Regions from separate parts of the Homo sapiens genome. Here regions 2, 3, 4 and 5 are each linked to region 1. Evidence: promoter capture Hi-C in 16 types of primary human blood cells and fetal thymus (Javierre and others, 2016). All regions are on one chromosome and are shown on one strand. Each heading gives the region's core, a stretch centred on a gene start or on the middle of the fragment in contact. The rest is flanking DNA. Distances are from core to core; before and after follow the strand shown. Region 1 holds the start of MUTYH (mutY DNA glycosylase). Region 2 overlaps ZSWIM5 (zinc finger SWIM-type containing 5). Region 3 holds the start of PTCH2 (patched 2). Region 4 overlaps ZSWIM5 (zinc finger SWIM-type containing 5). Region 5 overlaps EIF2B3 (eukaryotic translation initiation factor 2B subunit gamma).

Region 1 (2,700 bases), core at 74-2,573:
GTAAAGGGAGAGTTGTGACAGGCCTCTAGCACCAGCCCCTTCACAACCACCTGCCCTCCTTGTTTCCCAACTCTCACCGTGTCCACAGCCACGAAATTAGCTGTCTTTATGGCTAGCAGGAGGGATGGCCACATCTCCTTGAAGTTGTTGCTTTGCACATCCACTACGGGAACCTGGACTACTAGCTCCTCCCCAGATGTTGTGCTTTTGCTGACACCACCTGGGGGTTAGGAGGGTGATGGATGTTCATGCTTAAGGAAAGAGCCCAGGGGAACAGACACCAAGCTAGGCCACGGTGATGGTGGTAAGGGGGGTAGTTTCCATTGGTAGCTTTTCCCACAAGCCTTTGTAACCCACGTGTTCTACACACAGGCCTTGGAGTGGAGAATGCCCTGAATTTGGGGAGAGGAAGCCTGAGTCTTCTACTGGCTTGTATGAGCCTGGGTAAATTACTTCCCACCTCGCTTTCACAATCTGTAGAGGAGAAAGTTGGACTAGACGACCTTTGATTCTTTTTTCCCATGTCCTGCAGGAAACATTTTGTAGGGCTTGAGGATCTCAGCTCCCTTAATATCCCACAGGGATCCATACTACTGTTCTCATGGTGCCCCAGCGCCACAAGCAACAGCTCCCAGTAAGCCCCAGAGCCTGGCAGTGCCCCACACCAGAGCTCCCAATACGTCCTACCTTCCTTTGGATCACAACGCTCAATCCACTCCACTGAACTGAATCACAACTATTACTACTAACCGTTATGAGCTCCAGACTACATCTCCCGCCATGCCTCCATCAGCCCCATGCTCCCAACGCTCCAGGCTTTTGCAGCCGGAGCCGCGGTGTACAACGGAACTTGTAGTCTCCTCGTGGCTAGTTCAGGCGGAAGGAGCAGTCCTCTGAAGCTTGAGGAGCCTCTAGAACTATGAGCCCGAGGCCTTCCCCTCTCCCAGAGCGCAGAGGCTTTGAAGGCTACCTCTGGGAAGCCGCTCACCGTCGGAAGCTGCGGGAGCTGAAACTGCGCCATCGTCACTGTCGGCGGCCATGACACCGCTCGTCTCCCGCCTGAGTCGTCTGTGGGTACGCTGGACTTGCGGTCCGTCTCCTGGCGCGGTTCAGGCAGTCGGGGATGGGGCGGGGTCTCGCCGTCGGGTCGCCGATGGGTCGAACTTCCGTTCAGACGTCCCGGGTCCGGCGCGGGGAAGGCAGCCTGGCGCGCGCTAATTGCCTATTGGCCTGTGCTGCCGGCTCGCAGCCCGGGTGGACCCGAGCCACGCCCCCTGGAGTGCGCCGGAAAGCCGGGCGCGCTAGAGCTCGCGGGAGGTAATCTTTCTCTCCTGCTCTCGCGGCGGGAACGCGGGGCCTCCGTGTTCTGCTGTCTTCATCAGCGTGGGCCGCGGGTAGCGGGTAGTGGGGTGGCTGGGTTTGGGCTTTCCAGAGAAGGTGACGCTGCCTGAGCTGAGCTTAAAGCACGCCCAGGAGTTAGACTAGGAGAGGGTCGTGTGGGGGAAAGAAGGGCGTTCTGGGCATCGGTAAATTCCCAGAGAGGATGGAGAGCTCAGTGATCTCCAGAAAGTGAAAGAGGCGGGGAGTGGGCCATCGGAGGAGGCTGCCCAGGGTGTAAGAGCGACCGATTGGTAGGGAAGCTTTTGTAATAATCCAATCAAGTGATAATGTGAACTTGAATTAAGGCTGGCAGTATGGATGGCGAGGAAGGGACAAATTGTGAAGCAGCTAGGCGGTATAGTCGACCTAGAGGGTGATTGAATTTGAAAGAGGTTCCTAGGCCGGGCGCGGTGGCTCACGCCTGTAATCCCAGCACTTTGGGAGGCCGAGGCGGGCGGATTACCTGAGGTCCGGAGTTCAAAACCAGCCTGGCCAACATGGTGAAACCCCGTCTCTACTAAAAGTACAAAAAAAATTAGCTGGGTATGGTGCGGGCGCCTGTAATCCCACTACTTGGGAGGCTGAGGCAGGAGAATCGCTTGAACCTGGGAGGCAGAGGTTGCGGTGAGCCGAGATCACGCCATTTTGCACTTCAGCCTAGGCAACAAGAGCGAAACTCCGTCTCAAAAAAAAAAAAAAAAAAAAAATTCCTATTGGAGACTAGTCCCTCCGTAAACACTACGATTCCCATCCACCTCTGCCTTCCAGTGCTCCTTTGTTACTCATTGTTTATAGTTAATCTTCAGCTTCTCTCAACTGAGCCCATTTCATCATTATTCAGAACTGCTTGGGCCGGGCGCAGTGGCTTATGGCCTGTAATCATCTTAGGAGGCCAAGGTGGGAGGATCGCTTGACCCTAGGAGTTCAAGACTAGCCTGGGCAACATAGTGAAACCTTGTCTCTACAAAAAGAAAATTAAAAATTAGTTGGGCATGGTGGTGCGCACCTGTAGTCCCAGCTACAGGAGGCTGAGGTGAGAGGATGGCTTGAGCCCAGGAGGTCGAGGCTGCAGTGAGCCATGTTCTTATTGCACTCCAGCCTGAGTGGCAGAGCAGCAAAGTGAGGGACACACTGTCTCTAAAAACAAAACAAACAAACAAAAAAAAAACAAAAATAAAAAAACTCTTTGGATTTCTCCTATCCTAAAAAAGGGAAACTCTTTTGACTATCCCCCATCCCATTAATTCATTTAACAGGTATCTATTGTGTACAGTTTACCTGGCACTGACTTTGGACACACACCAATCAACAAGAGAATCA
Region 2 (2,700 bases), core at 92-2,591, 320 kb after region 1:
CTTGGGTTACAGGTATGGAGGAAGAGTAGGCCATCCACAGTTTAGACCGCTGACCTAGTGACAGTTGGCAGAAGATAAGATCTCTGGGAGACTGGGCATAGGCCAAGTCTGGCTCTTCCTTTGGGCCCAGAACACAAGTTCTAGGCTAGGGAAAAGGCAAGGATTTCATAAATTGGGCTCCACTTTTAAGTTAAGGCCAGAAGCAAGATAAAGCTTTAGGCTCCCTGGGGTCCCTATCTTCTCTCTACCTCCCCATTTCTACAAGTCAAGCAAGGTATGATAATAAGGACTTTGCTGCAGATCATCAGAGAAGCTTCCTATCTGATTGGTGGGAGGGCTGGGAAAGAAATTAACTGTATTTTATGTTTATCAGCGGAGAGACCACTGTTTAAAGCACCAGAAAATATTTGTCGCATAAATGAATGCAAGGGGAGGGAGAGGTCACAACAGTTAGGCATAGCCCACTGGAAAGGCCTCTTTTGTGCCCAGGTGATGCGGATGACCTTATCAACCCTTAACTGGAGACGCAGGGAGATGGTACGATGGTTGGTGACCTGTGCTACAGAAGTGGGTGAGTCTCCCACCTCCCTCTACCCCCAGGGGAAAGGAGTTTCTAGGCCCTACTCTTGGGACAGGACAATCAATCCTTAGAGCTCTCATATTCCTATGAGATCTTAGGTCCATCAGGAGATGGCCTAAGAAAGGATGGGGCTGCTGGTAGGAGAAGGTGGCCTCTGTTCAGCCAGCCCAAGCCCTGTCTTCACTGCTTGAACCATATCCTGATGTCAGCAGCCCTTGATCCTCTCAACAGAGACATGTCTAAGAGAATGAATTTTCAGTTGCTACTCAAGTGCTCCCTTGGGAGGTAGTGGGCCCAGTGGTTTGGTCCCCATCCCTGTGCATGCTTGTAAAAAACTCCAGACAACTTAGAGGCTCAGGACCCTTTCTAAAGCCCAAAGCCCCAGCACAAGACTCTACCCTGAGAGGCCCCACTTCAGCTAGAACCCCTGGCAGATCTGTAACCCATGCCTCAGGGCAAGCAAACCCCAGGCTCTACTGTCCCATCCTTGTGAGGGGCTAAGAGCACCTGCAGAAACCTTCAACTCTCTGACCTGGGGAAAGAAGGGATAGGAAGAGACCCCAAACAGGGTCTGGCCATCTGGGATGCTCCCCTTGCCCTGGTTTGCCTCATATCATCTCAAGGTTGCTGAGGAGGAAGAATTCATCTCTGCAGGCCAAGTTCAAACCCCAAATGGTAATCTGGGTAGACCTGAATCAGGACCCAGATGGCCACGGCTGAGCTCAGGCTCCCCCTGACAGGTGTGCGGGCCCTGGTGAGCATCTTGCAGAGCTGGTACACACTCTTCACCCCTACTGAGGCTACTAGTATTGTAGCTGCCACAGCCGTATCCCACACCACTATCCTGCGCCTCAGTCTTGACTATCCACAGCGGGAGGAACTGGCTAGCTGTGCTCGCACACTGGCTCTACAGTGTGCTATGAAGGATCCACAGAGCTGTGCCCTGTCAGCCCTTACACTCTGTGAGAAAGACCACATTGCCTTTGAGGCAGCCTACCAGATTGCCATTGATGCTGCTGCTGGTGGTATGACCCATTCACAGCTGTTCACCATCGCCCGCTACATGGAGCTCCGTGGCTACCCGCTACGTGCCTTCAAGCTGGCCTCATTGGCCATGAGCCATCTTAACCTGGCCTACAACCAGGATACTCACCCAGCCATCAATGATGTGCTCTGGGCTTGTGCTCTCAGCCACTCTCTGGGCAAGAATGAGCTGGCAGCTCTCATCCCCCTGGTGGTGAAGAGTGTGCACTGTGCCACAGTGCTTTCAGACATCTTACGACGCTGCACAGTGACTGCACCTGGCCTGGCCGGCATCCCAGGCCGCCGAAGCTCTGGAAAGCTCATGTCCACTGACAAAGCTCCATTGCGCCAGTTGCTGGATGCCACCATCAATGCCTATATCAACACTACACACTCACGCCTAACACACATCAGCCCTCGCCACTATGGAGAGTTCATTGAGTTTCTAAGCAAGGCTCGGGAGACCTTCCTGCTGCCCCAGGATGGCCACCTGCAGTTTGCCCAGTTCATCGACAACCTCAAACAGATCTACAAAGGCAAGAAAAAGTTGATGCTGCTGGTGCGAGAGCGCTTTGGCTGAGAGAGCAGATAGCTCACTGCCAGAGCAGCCTGGGTTCCCAGGTAGTATCAGGTCAGGCCAAGGGCACTGAAACATTTGTCCACCCTGAGAGAACTCTGAGCACCTGTGGATGAGGCCAAAGGACCACAGGGCTAAGGATGGGGAAAGTCCAGCTCTAGTCGATAATGCCTACCTTGGCAAGCTTCTGACTACAGCCTACTGTTCATGGAGGAGCTGGGCCCTGCAGATCGACCAGAAACCCCACAACATGCCACCTCATGCCCCTATATCCTGCGTGTCCTGAGCATTGGCCCTGTCTCCCTTGGCAAACACAGAACACTGTTCCATCTCAGGGATTGCTTAACCAGAGAAACAGACACATTTGTGGGACTGTAAATACTATATGTGTTGCTAATTATTGTAAACTTGTAACTATTTATAATTCTGCTTCTGATTTGATGGGCACTTGAAGTAGCTGTGGGTAGGAGGATATGCTTATTTTCTGAGGAGACTCACAACCATTTCTCAGGTTTCCCTT
Region 3 (2,700 bases), core at 55-2,554, 500 kb after region 1:
GGTGGTGCACACCTGTAGTCCCAGCCATTTGGGAGGTCGAGGTGGGAGGATCCCTTGAGACTGGGAGCTCAAGGCTGCAGTGTGCTGTGAAGGCACCACTGCACTCCAACCTGGGCAACAGAGGGAGATCCTGCCTCAAAAAAAAAAAAAAAAAGGTGGGTTTTGGGGGTGATTCAAGTTCAGTTTTTGAAGATTATCTGCCAAGACAAAAGGACCAAAACATGTACAAAGGCAGGAACGAGGGAACACTGATGTGAGGGAACTATGGGAGAGAAGGCTTTAGCTAGATCACACAGGGCCCTGTGCTCCAAGTGGGCCTTGTGCTTTGGAGCTATCAGATTTGCATGTTAGAGAAATGACTCTGGTCTCAGTGGAGAGAGTGGACTGAAGAGGGCAAGAATGGAAGCCGGGAAGAGTGAACAGAAGAAATCTTGGGCTTTGATTGGGTCGGAAAGAAAGTGTGGCCCTACCCACTTTGATGCCATCTCTAAGACCTACTGCTACCTGACCCCCGACCTCTGGAAGGAGACTGTATTCACCAAGTCTCCCTATCAGGAATTCACTGACCACCTCGTCAAGACCCACACCAGAGTCTCCGCGCAGAGGATCCAGGCTCCAGCTGTGGCTACAACATAGGGTTTTTATACAAGAAAAATAAAGTGAATTAAGCCTGAAAAAAAAAAAAAAGAAAAGAAAAAGAAATTGTGGCCCTAGGCCGGGCGCGGTGGCTCACGCTTGTCATCCCAACACTTTGGGAGGCTGAGGCGGGCGGATATCCTGAGCTCGGGAGTCTGAGACCAACCGGGGCAACATGGCGAAACCCGTTCTCTACCAAAAATACAAAAAGCCGGGCGTGGTGGTGCATGCCTGTGATCCCAGCTACTCGGGAGGCTGAGGTGGGAGGATGGCTTGAGCCTGGAAGGCGGAGCCTGCAAGCCGAGATGGAGCCACTGCACTCCAGCCTGGGTGACAGAGTGAGACCCCGTCTTAAAAAAAAAAAAAAAAGTGTATCCCTAACAGAGCCCGCAAAGGCCCTTTCTCAGCGTAAGCCTCTGGACTTACACTTGGCCGGCGCTGCGCCTCTCCGGGATCCCCCTCCCTCCTCCTCCCTGGGGCCCCGCGGGCGGGAGGGAGGCGCGGGGTGGCCCAGCCTGGGTGGTCTCCCGCCCCGCCCCCTGCGGCGCCGTTACCTAGCAGCGGGCCGGGCCGCGCGGCTAGGGTAATTTGCGGGCCCCTCAGCCAATGGGAGGGCGTCGCCCCGGCCAGCTCCCTTTTCTGGAGCTCCAGCCGCCTCCCGGGGACTGCAGTTGCCACCTCGAGCCCTGCTGTGCGTCTCGGGCCAGCAATTCCGCCTGCGCGCGGGACCCATTCCTCCTCCAGCCGCCGCGGCCCACGGCCCACGGAGCGGGTGAATCCCGGCGCCGCGCCCCGGACCCGCAGCTCCCTGCACTCCTCCCTCCCAGCCGCTTTAACACCCACACCCCACAGTCTCTCCCACGCCCGCGCCTTGGCGGCCCCACTGAATCCCTACGCGGGGCCCAGCGGTACCGGGAGACCGGGCTAGCCTATGGGAGCGCCCAGATAACGCGGGTTGGGGGCGCCCGCGCCCCCCATCCCCGCCAGCATGACTCGATCGCCGCCCCTCAGAGAGCTGCCCCCGAGTTACACACCCCCAGCTCGAACCGCAGCACCCCAGGTGAGTAGAGGGGGAGCTGGAAGAAGGAAGAGAGCGGAGCCAGGTCTGTCACTCGGGCCTCTGCAAGGTTTGTGATGTCTTGAAGTGCCGAGTGTCATTAGATGTCTGAAGGCAAGTGAGAGCCAGCACCGCAAGCAAGTTGTGCGTGTGTGTCGGTGTGTCTGTGCCGGTGTCTCCTCATCGTCTGGCCAGTGAGAATGAATGTCTGTGGGTTCACCTCTGTGTCCACCCGACGACAGGTGTGTGTACATATGTATCCTGCTCTCAGAAAATGGGCCTATGCCGGCCGGGCGCGGTGACTCACGCCTGTAATCCCAACACTGGGAGGCTGAGGCAGGCAGATTACCTGAGGTCAGGAGTTCGAGACCAGCCAGGCCAACATGGGGAAACTCTGTCTCTACTAAAAATAAAAAATTAGCAGGGCGTGGTGGCGGGCGCCTGTAGTCCCAACTACTCGGGAGGCTGAGGCAGGAGAATCTCTTGAACCTGGGAGGCGGAGGTTGCAGTCAGCCGAGATCACACCACTGCACTCCAGCCAGGGCAACAGAGCGAGACTGCGTCTCAAAAAAAAAAAAAAAAAAAAAAAGGAGAGAAAACAAAAAGAAAAGAAAGGAAAATAGGCCTATGCCTTCCTCAGGTGTGTGCTGGGGATGGTGGGTGTTACATCTTCCAAGTCTGGGCCTGTGTCTGTGTTGGTGCTCCCTGTCCCACATCCAGAAATCAAGAAGCGAGGGCTGGGCAGCAGATATACAGGGTGAGAAGGGAAGGATTTCATGCATTGTTGCAGTGATGCCTGGCTGACCCTTCTCTTTCCATCCCAGATCCTAGCTGGGAGCCTGAAGGCTCCACTCTGGCTTCGTGCTTACTTCCAGGGCCTGCTCTTCTCTCTGGGATGCGGGATCCAGAGACATTGTGGCAAAGTGCTCTTTCTGGGACTGTTGGCCTTTGGGGCCCTGGCATTAGGTCTCCGCATGGCCATTATTGAGACAAACTTGGAACAGCTC
Region 4 (2,723 bases), core at 136-2,635, 300 kb after region 1:
GCTACTCAGGAGGCTGAGGCAGGAGAATTGCTTGGACCTGGGAGGCGGAGGTTGCAGTGAGCGGAGATCACACCACTGTACTCCAGTCTGGGTGACAGAGTGAGACTCCATCTAAAAAAAAAAAAAAGTTACTAGAAAAGTGTGAGTAAATATACATGACACTGGAAAGAGTGATTATTTCTGATTTTTATTTTATATTTCTTTATATGTATTTTCAAATTTTCCGCAATTCTATAATTTTTAATTTTATCTTTAAGAAAAAAAGCACAAAATAAACCATAAAGCTTGTTATAGTTACTCACCTATTTGTAAGTCTTTGGTTTGGTAGTCTTCCATTATCCCTAAGGTAAATTCAAACTCCATAGAATGGCATTCACAGCTGTTTACATTCCAGACTCTACCTTTTCCAGGCTATCTTAGGCCACATAACATAATTCTAACTACATGGAACTATTTGCCATACTCTGAAGATGGATGCTATTAATATATTGAATAATTTTTATGCTTTTACAATATGCCCTTGCTTATGTTTCCTTTGTCAGGAATGTCTTTCCCTGTTTGTCTACCTGTTTGAAATCTTACTTGTCCTTCAAAGCACAGCTCAAATATTATTTTCTCTCTGTATATATTTCTATCATGTTACTTCTTTTTAGCTGCTTTATAATTACATTTATGTATCATTTGTGAGCTCTTTGAGGGCAATGACCATTTCCTATTCATCTTTGTACTTTCTTTGCCCAGCATACTCCCTGGCATTTAATAGGTTTTCAGGAAATGTAGGATTAATTAAATGAATGAGACTTTTCCCATTAGGCAGTTAGTTGCTACCTCCATTGGTTTCCCATAGTATAATATATGTTTGCAAAGAGAAACTACATTTTATTATCCTACTTGTGTGTCCCTTTCTACACCATAGACCACGCTGAGGCTGCAAGGTAGCTCTTTCAAGATATCACCTGTGATTTATTCAACTTTTTATATCCTTAAAGATAAAGACACAGTTCCTGGTATACAGTAGGTGTCAGGTTGAATTTGAGGAACTGGACTGAATACAAACTCTCTTTGTCAGGTATAAATTTTCCTGACTTGAAATTTTAACTAGACCAAAATATCTTCTTCTTACTTGGTAGAGCATGTGCCTACAGCCTGTGCTCGAGTTGACGCCCTGCGTTCCCATGGTTATCCAAAAGAGGCCCTCAGACTCACAGTGGCCATTATTAATACTCTGAGGTTGCAGCAGCAGCGGCAACTGGAAATCTACAAGCATCAGAAGAAAGGTATAGTAATTAGGAGCCATCTAACCCCCTTAGGCCCAAAGCTGATGAGGATCCTCAGGGGATACAAGGCCCAGAAGAACTAGGGAATTCCGGGTCATTCTCCTTGCTGTGTGGAATGCCTCACTTTATCTTTATGAATGTCAGTTTTCTCATCTGTTCATTTGGGAATAATACCTGTTTGCCTCCCTCATAAGGCAGTTAGAAGGCTCATTAAGATCTGGTATGAGAAGACCATTTTTAAACTCTAAAGCTGTGGACAGGCATGGTGATTCACACCTATAATCCCAGCACTTTGGGAGGCCCAGGTAGGAGGATTGCTTGAGGCCAGGAGTTTGAGACCAGCCTGGGCAACATGGTGAGACCCTATCTTTACAAAAATAAAATAAAGGCCAGGCATGGTGGCTTACGCCTGTAATCCCAGCACTTTGGGAGGCCGAGGCAGGCAATCACCTGAGGTCGGGAGTTCGAGACCAGCCTGACCAACATGGAGAAACCCCATCTCTACTAAAAATACAAAAAATTAGCTGGGCGTGGTGGCGCGTGCCTGTAATCCCAGCTACTTGGGAGGCTGAGGCAGAAGAATCGCTGGAACCCAGGAGGCGGAGGTTGCAGTGAGCCGAGATCACACCATTGCACTCCAGCCTGGGCAACAAGAGCAGAGCTCCGTCTTAAAATAAATAATTAATTAAATTAAATTAAATTAAATATGCCAGGCACAGTGGCTCACGCCTGTAATCCCAGGACTTTGGTAGGGTGAATCGGGTGGATCACTTGAGGCCAGGAGTTCAAGACCAGCCTGGCCAACATAGTGAAACCCCAGTTCTATCAAAAATACAAAAATTGTCAGGCATAGTGGCACATGCCTGTAGTCCCAGCTACTCTGGAGGCTGAGGCACGAGAATTGTTTGAACCCAGGAGGCGGAGGTTGCAATGAGCCAAGATCACGCCACTGCACTCTGGCCTGGGCGATAGAGCGAGACTCTGTCTCAAAAATAAATTTTTAAATAAAATTAACAGGGCATGGTGGCATGTGCCTGTAGTCCCAACTATTCAGAAGACTCAGGTATCTCTTAAAACAAAAACCTGTAAAGCTCTATCCACGTATGCACTACCAGCAGGCAACCCAAATGCAGACCACGTGACCTTATAGCTGGCTGGTATGTTTGTGGCCAGCCGTATCAACCCAAGGCAAGACAATAGAGAAGCTTTTATTTGACTCTCAGGGTCAAGGCTGGAGAGACTGATAAGAAGACCCAGGCAGGGACAGACAGCAGTTTGTCTCTATCACTGTCTAAAATTTTAACCTGCTTGTTTCCAGAACTGTTGCAGAGAGGAACCACAACCATCACAAACCTGGAGGGCTGGGTGGGCCACCCCCTGGATCCCATCGACTGCCTGTTTCTCACTTTGACTGAGGCCTGCCGCCTGAATGATGATGGCTATCTG
Region 5 (2,756 bases), core at 126-2,625, 480 kb after region 1:
CATCAGAAGTATTCCAGGGCTCAGGACCTGTGTCACCCATGAACCCTCTGGAAAACTCTACCTGAAGACATAATATAGCCAAGGAAGAAATGAAAATGGATAGTTTAAGGTATAAAAGTGAATCCTCTTAAATATAAGTCCAATTAGAGGTAATTAGAGTTGCAGAAAAGTACATAATTGTTAAAAGAATTCTTTTTGGAGGCAGAGTCTCGCTGTGTCACCCAGGCTGGAGTGCAGTGGCATGATCTTGGCTCATTGCAACCTCTGCCTCCTGGGTTCAAGCTATCCTCCCACCTCAGCCTTCCGAGTAGCTGGGACTACAGGCACACACCATCACGCCAGGCTAATTTTTGTATTTTTAGTAGACGGGGTTTGCTATGTTGGCCAGGCTGGTCTTGAACTCCTGACCACAGGTGATCCACCCGCCTCAGCCTCCCAAAATGCTGGGATTACAGGCATGAGCCACCGAGCCCAGCACTTCTGTCATACTCTTAAAAACACCAAATTATGACACTTTGGGAAGATCCCCTGGATTAAAGGGGCTCCTAATGGCTTTTGGTTCATTCCCTACCTTTGAACCATTTGCACTAAACCCATCTTAGATGAAGAATTCTGCAGCTTAACTCTTTAAGGCTGTTACATCTTTGCTTTGATTTCCCCTAAACTCCCTAGCCTCTGCTTAGGGAATACAAGGACTTAGATTTCTTAGGAGGGAGCCATTTCTCACCACAAAATCTTATATAGTGAAGGGGGGCATACAGAACTAAAAGGAGGAAATTTTCAGCCTGCTCACTGGAGTCAGTACCTTTTAATCTAGAGGACCCAAGAGCAAGAGTGACCAGAAACAGGGAAAAGGTAAGATCATTTCTTCAAGTATTATATATATCATTACCTGAATTAACCTGGATAAATCACAAATATGATGTTGAAGAGGGGAAAGCAAGTTGCAGAAGGATACACAGAACGGTAACATGTATGTACAATTCTAAAACATTAAAAATATTGTATGTTTAATAAATGTAGTAAAAATACTTAGGAACAAGAAACACCACAGTCCAATAATGGATACCCTGGTGGAAGAAGGAAGGAAATGGGATGAAAGAAAGATGCTTAGCAAGTTGGATTGTTTGTTTCTCAAGCTGTTTGGTGGATACACAGGCGTTCTTTATATTATTCTCTAGGTTTTTTTCTATACTTAAAATATTTCATTAAAAATAATACATGGTTGCCAGATGCAGTGGCTCACACATGTAATCCCAACACTTTGAAGGCTGAGACAGAAGGATCACTTGAGGCCAGGAGTTTGAGACCAGCCTGGGCAACATAGCAAAATTCCATCTCTACCAAAAAGAATTGTTTTAAATTATAAATAATAAAAAATAACTTTTAATAAAAATAACACATGATTCTTTCTCTAGAGAGATACTTGGACCAGCTTAGAAGGGCTTAGGTTAGGAGGCTCCCAGTACCTAGAGAGATTATGGGTGACTCAGCCATAATCTTTCGGCCAAAGTGTTGAGTTGGCCTAGAGCAGACCTTAGTCACATGCCTAGAAAAGCTACACATATCTTCAGTTTCATTCTCTTTTCTTCCCCCAGGGTCATGAGTAGTTTAGAAAGCCTGTCAACTCATCAAAAAAGAAAAGAACCTCCCCATCCTCAGTTACTGAGAAGTTTCATGGCTCTTTGCCGAATATTCTCTAAGTCAATATCTGAAGCAGGAGCCCGTGATACAGTGGAGTGTCACTTTAGGCCTGTGCACATTGCCTAACATCTGTGAGTCTCAATTTTCTCTGTAAAAATTGGAATAAATACCACCATCCCTGCAAGTTTGCTGAAAGGATTCAGTTATAAAATGAGTGTAGGCTGGGTGCAGTGGCTCACGCCTGTAATCCCAACACTTTGGGAGGCTGAGGCGGGTAGATCATGAGGTCAGGCATTCGAGACCAGCCTGGTCAACATAATGAAACCCCATCTCTACTAAAAATACAAAAAATTAGCCGGGCATGATGGCAGATGCCTGTAATTCCAGCTACTTGGGAGGCTGAGGCAGGAGACAGTGAGCCGAGATCGCGCCACTGCACTCCAGTCCGGGCGACAGTGTGAGACTCCATCTCAAAAAATAATAATAATAAATGAGTGTAAAGTGCTTTATATAATGACTGAGATGTATTAGACATTAGATATATGTGAGTTCCCTTTCCTCCCTTGAAATAACTGAAAGAAGTCCTACCTAAAGCCAGAAGAGGAGCAAGAATTTGGAGGCACTCTTGCTTCTCAGTTAGCCTTCTTCCTCAGGTGATATGCCACAACATAGTATAGTGTGGTGTGCCTGGCCAAGCAGTGATCTTACTGTAGTACTCTGTTTTTCTCATGGCCTCCTTTCCACTGAAACGTTACAGTTTTCAGAGTAATTTTGCAAAGCCTGCCTCTGTGCTTGAAATTTGAACCTACCAAGGAGAAATGAGGACCAAGTCTCCATTAGTCTTAGCCATCACTGAGCAGCGTCTTAGAGAACACAGCTAGACATTAGCACAGCGGAGTGCTTCGTGCCAACCTGAGAGTTAAAACTAGGATGCAGAAGCTGTAATTCTAGTCTGGAACAAGCTCTTTTGTTGGACTATAGGAACTCACCTCTTCTCTCTCCTTAGGCACTAAACAGAAAAGACAGAGTCCTTGCTGCCAATTGGCAACCTAGAGAGGGTTTGTTTGATAAGGTCCTATCTTTCCATTCCCTGTAGCATGAACAGATACACT

Evidence for each region. Contacts are between HindIII fragments. The CHiCAGO score rates a contact against its expected background, and 5 or more counts as called.
Region 2: a fragment that was not itself captured here is called in contact with the fragment with the promoter of MUTYH in region 1 in 16 of 17 cell types (naive CD4 T cells, naive B cells, M1 macrophages and 13 more); the score reaches 14.9 in naive CD4 T cells.
Region 3: a contact is called between the fragment with the promoter of PTCH2 here and the fragment with the promoter of MUTYH in region 1, in 8 of 17 cell types (endothelial precursors, M1 macrophages, total B cells and 5 more). The highest score is 10.5, in endothelial precursors.
Region 4: a fragment that was not itself captured here is called in contact with the fragment with the promoter of MUTYH in region 1 in 1 of 17 cell types (erythroblasts); the score reaches 5.8 in erythroblasts.
Region 5: a fragment that was not itself captured here is called in contact with the fragment with the promoter of MUTYH in region 1 in 2 of 17 cell types (endothelial precursors and M1 macrophages); the score reaches 6.6 in endothelial precursors.

What each region holds. Positions count from the first base shown.
Region 1 is chr1:45,338,593-45,341,292 of GRCh38, reverse strand. MUTYH (mutY DNA glycosylase) reads left to right here and starts at 1,323. Exons shown (of 16, transcript NM_001048174.2): 1 at 1,323-1,394. It overlaps TOE1 (target of EGR1, exonuclease), which reads right to left and starts at 1,123. Exons shown (of 8, transcript NM_025077.4): 1 at 989-1,123; 2 at 78-220. The coding sequence starts at 1,040. RefSeq lists enhancers at 1-464, 763-1,112, 465-1,133, 1,134-1,801. The HindIII fragment of the contact is 741 bases long and covers 902-1,642 here.
Region 2 is chr1:45,017,937-45,020,636 of GRCh38, reverse strand. It overlaps ZSWIM5 (zinc finger SWIM-type containing 5), which reads left to right. Exons shown (of 14, transcript NM_020883.2): 12 at 1-12; 13 at 490-571; 14 at 1,321-2,700. The coding sequence ends at 2,183. Among named protein-coding and RNA genes, the nearest start is that of UROD, 7.0 kb to the right of the region's middle. The HindIII fragment of the contact is 2,051 bases long and covers 316-2,366 here.
Region 3 is chr1:44,841,857-44,844,556 of GRCh38, reverse strand. PTCH2 (patched 2) reads left to right here and starts at 1,304. Exons shown (of 22, transcript NM_003738.5): 1 at 1,304-1,696; 2 at 2,518-2,700. The coding sequence starts at 1,625. RefSeq lists a silencer at 1,089-1,358. The HindIII fragment of the contact is 9,661 bases long and covers 1-2,700 here.
Region 4 is chr1:45,038,946-45,041,668 of GRCh38, reverse strand. ZSWIM5 (zinc finger SWIM-type containing 5) reads left to right here. Exons shown (of 14, transcript NM_020883.2): 7 at 1,131-1,277; 8 at 2,596-2,723. Among named protein-coding and RNA genes, the nearest start is that of UROD, 28 kb to the right of the region's middle. The HindIII fragment of the contact is 2,198 bases long and covers 287-2,484 here.
Region 5 is chr1:44,862,004-44,864,759 of GRCh38, reverse strand. The region is part of intron 10 of EIF2B3 (eukaryotic translation initiation factor 2B subunit gamma); the gene reads left to right. Among named protein-coding and RNA genes, the nearest start is that of PTCH2, 20 kb to the right of the region's middle. The HindIII fragment of the contact is 4,199 bases long and covers 1-2,756 here.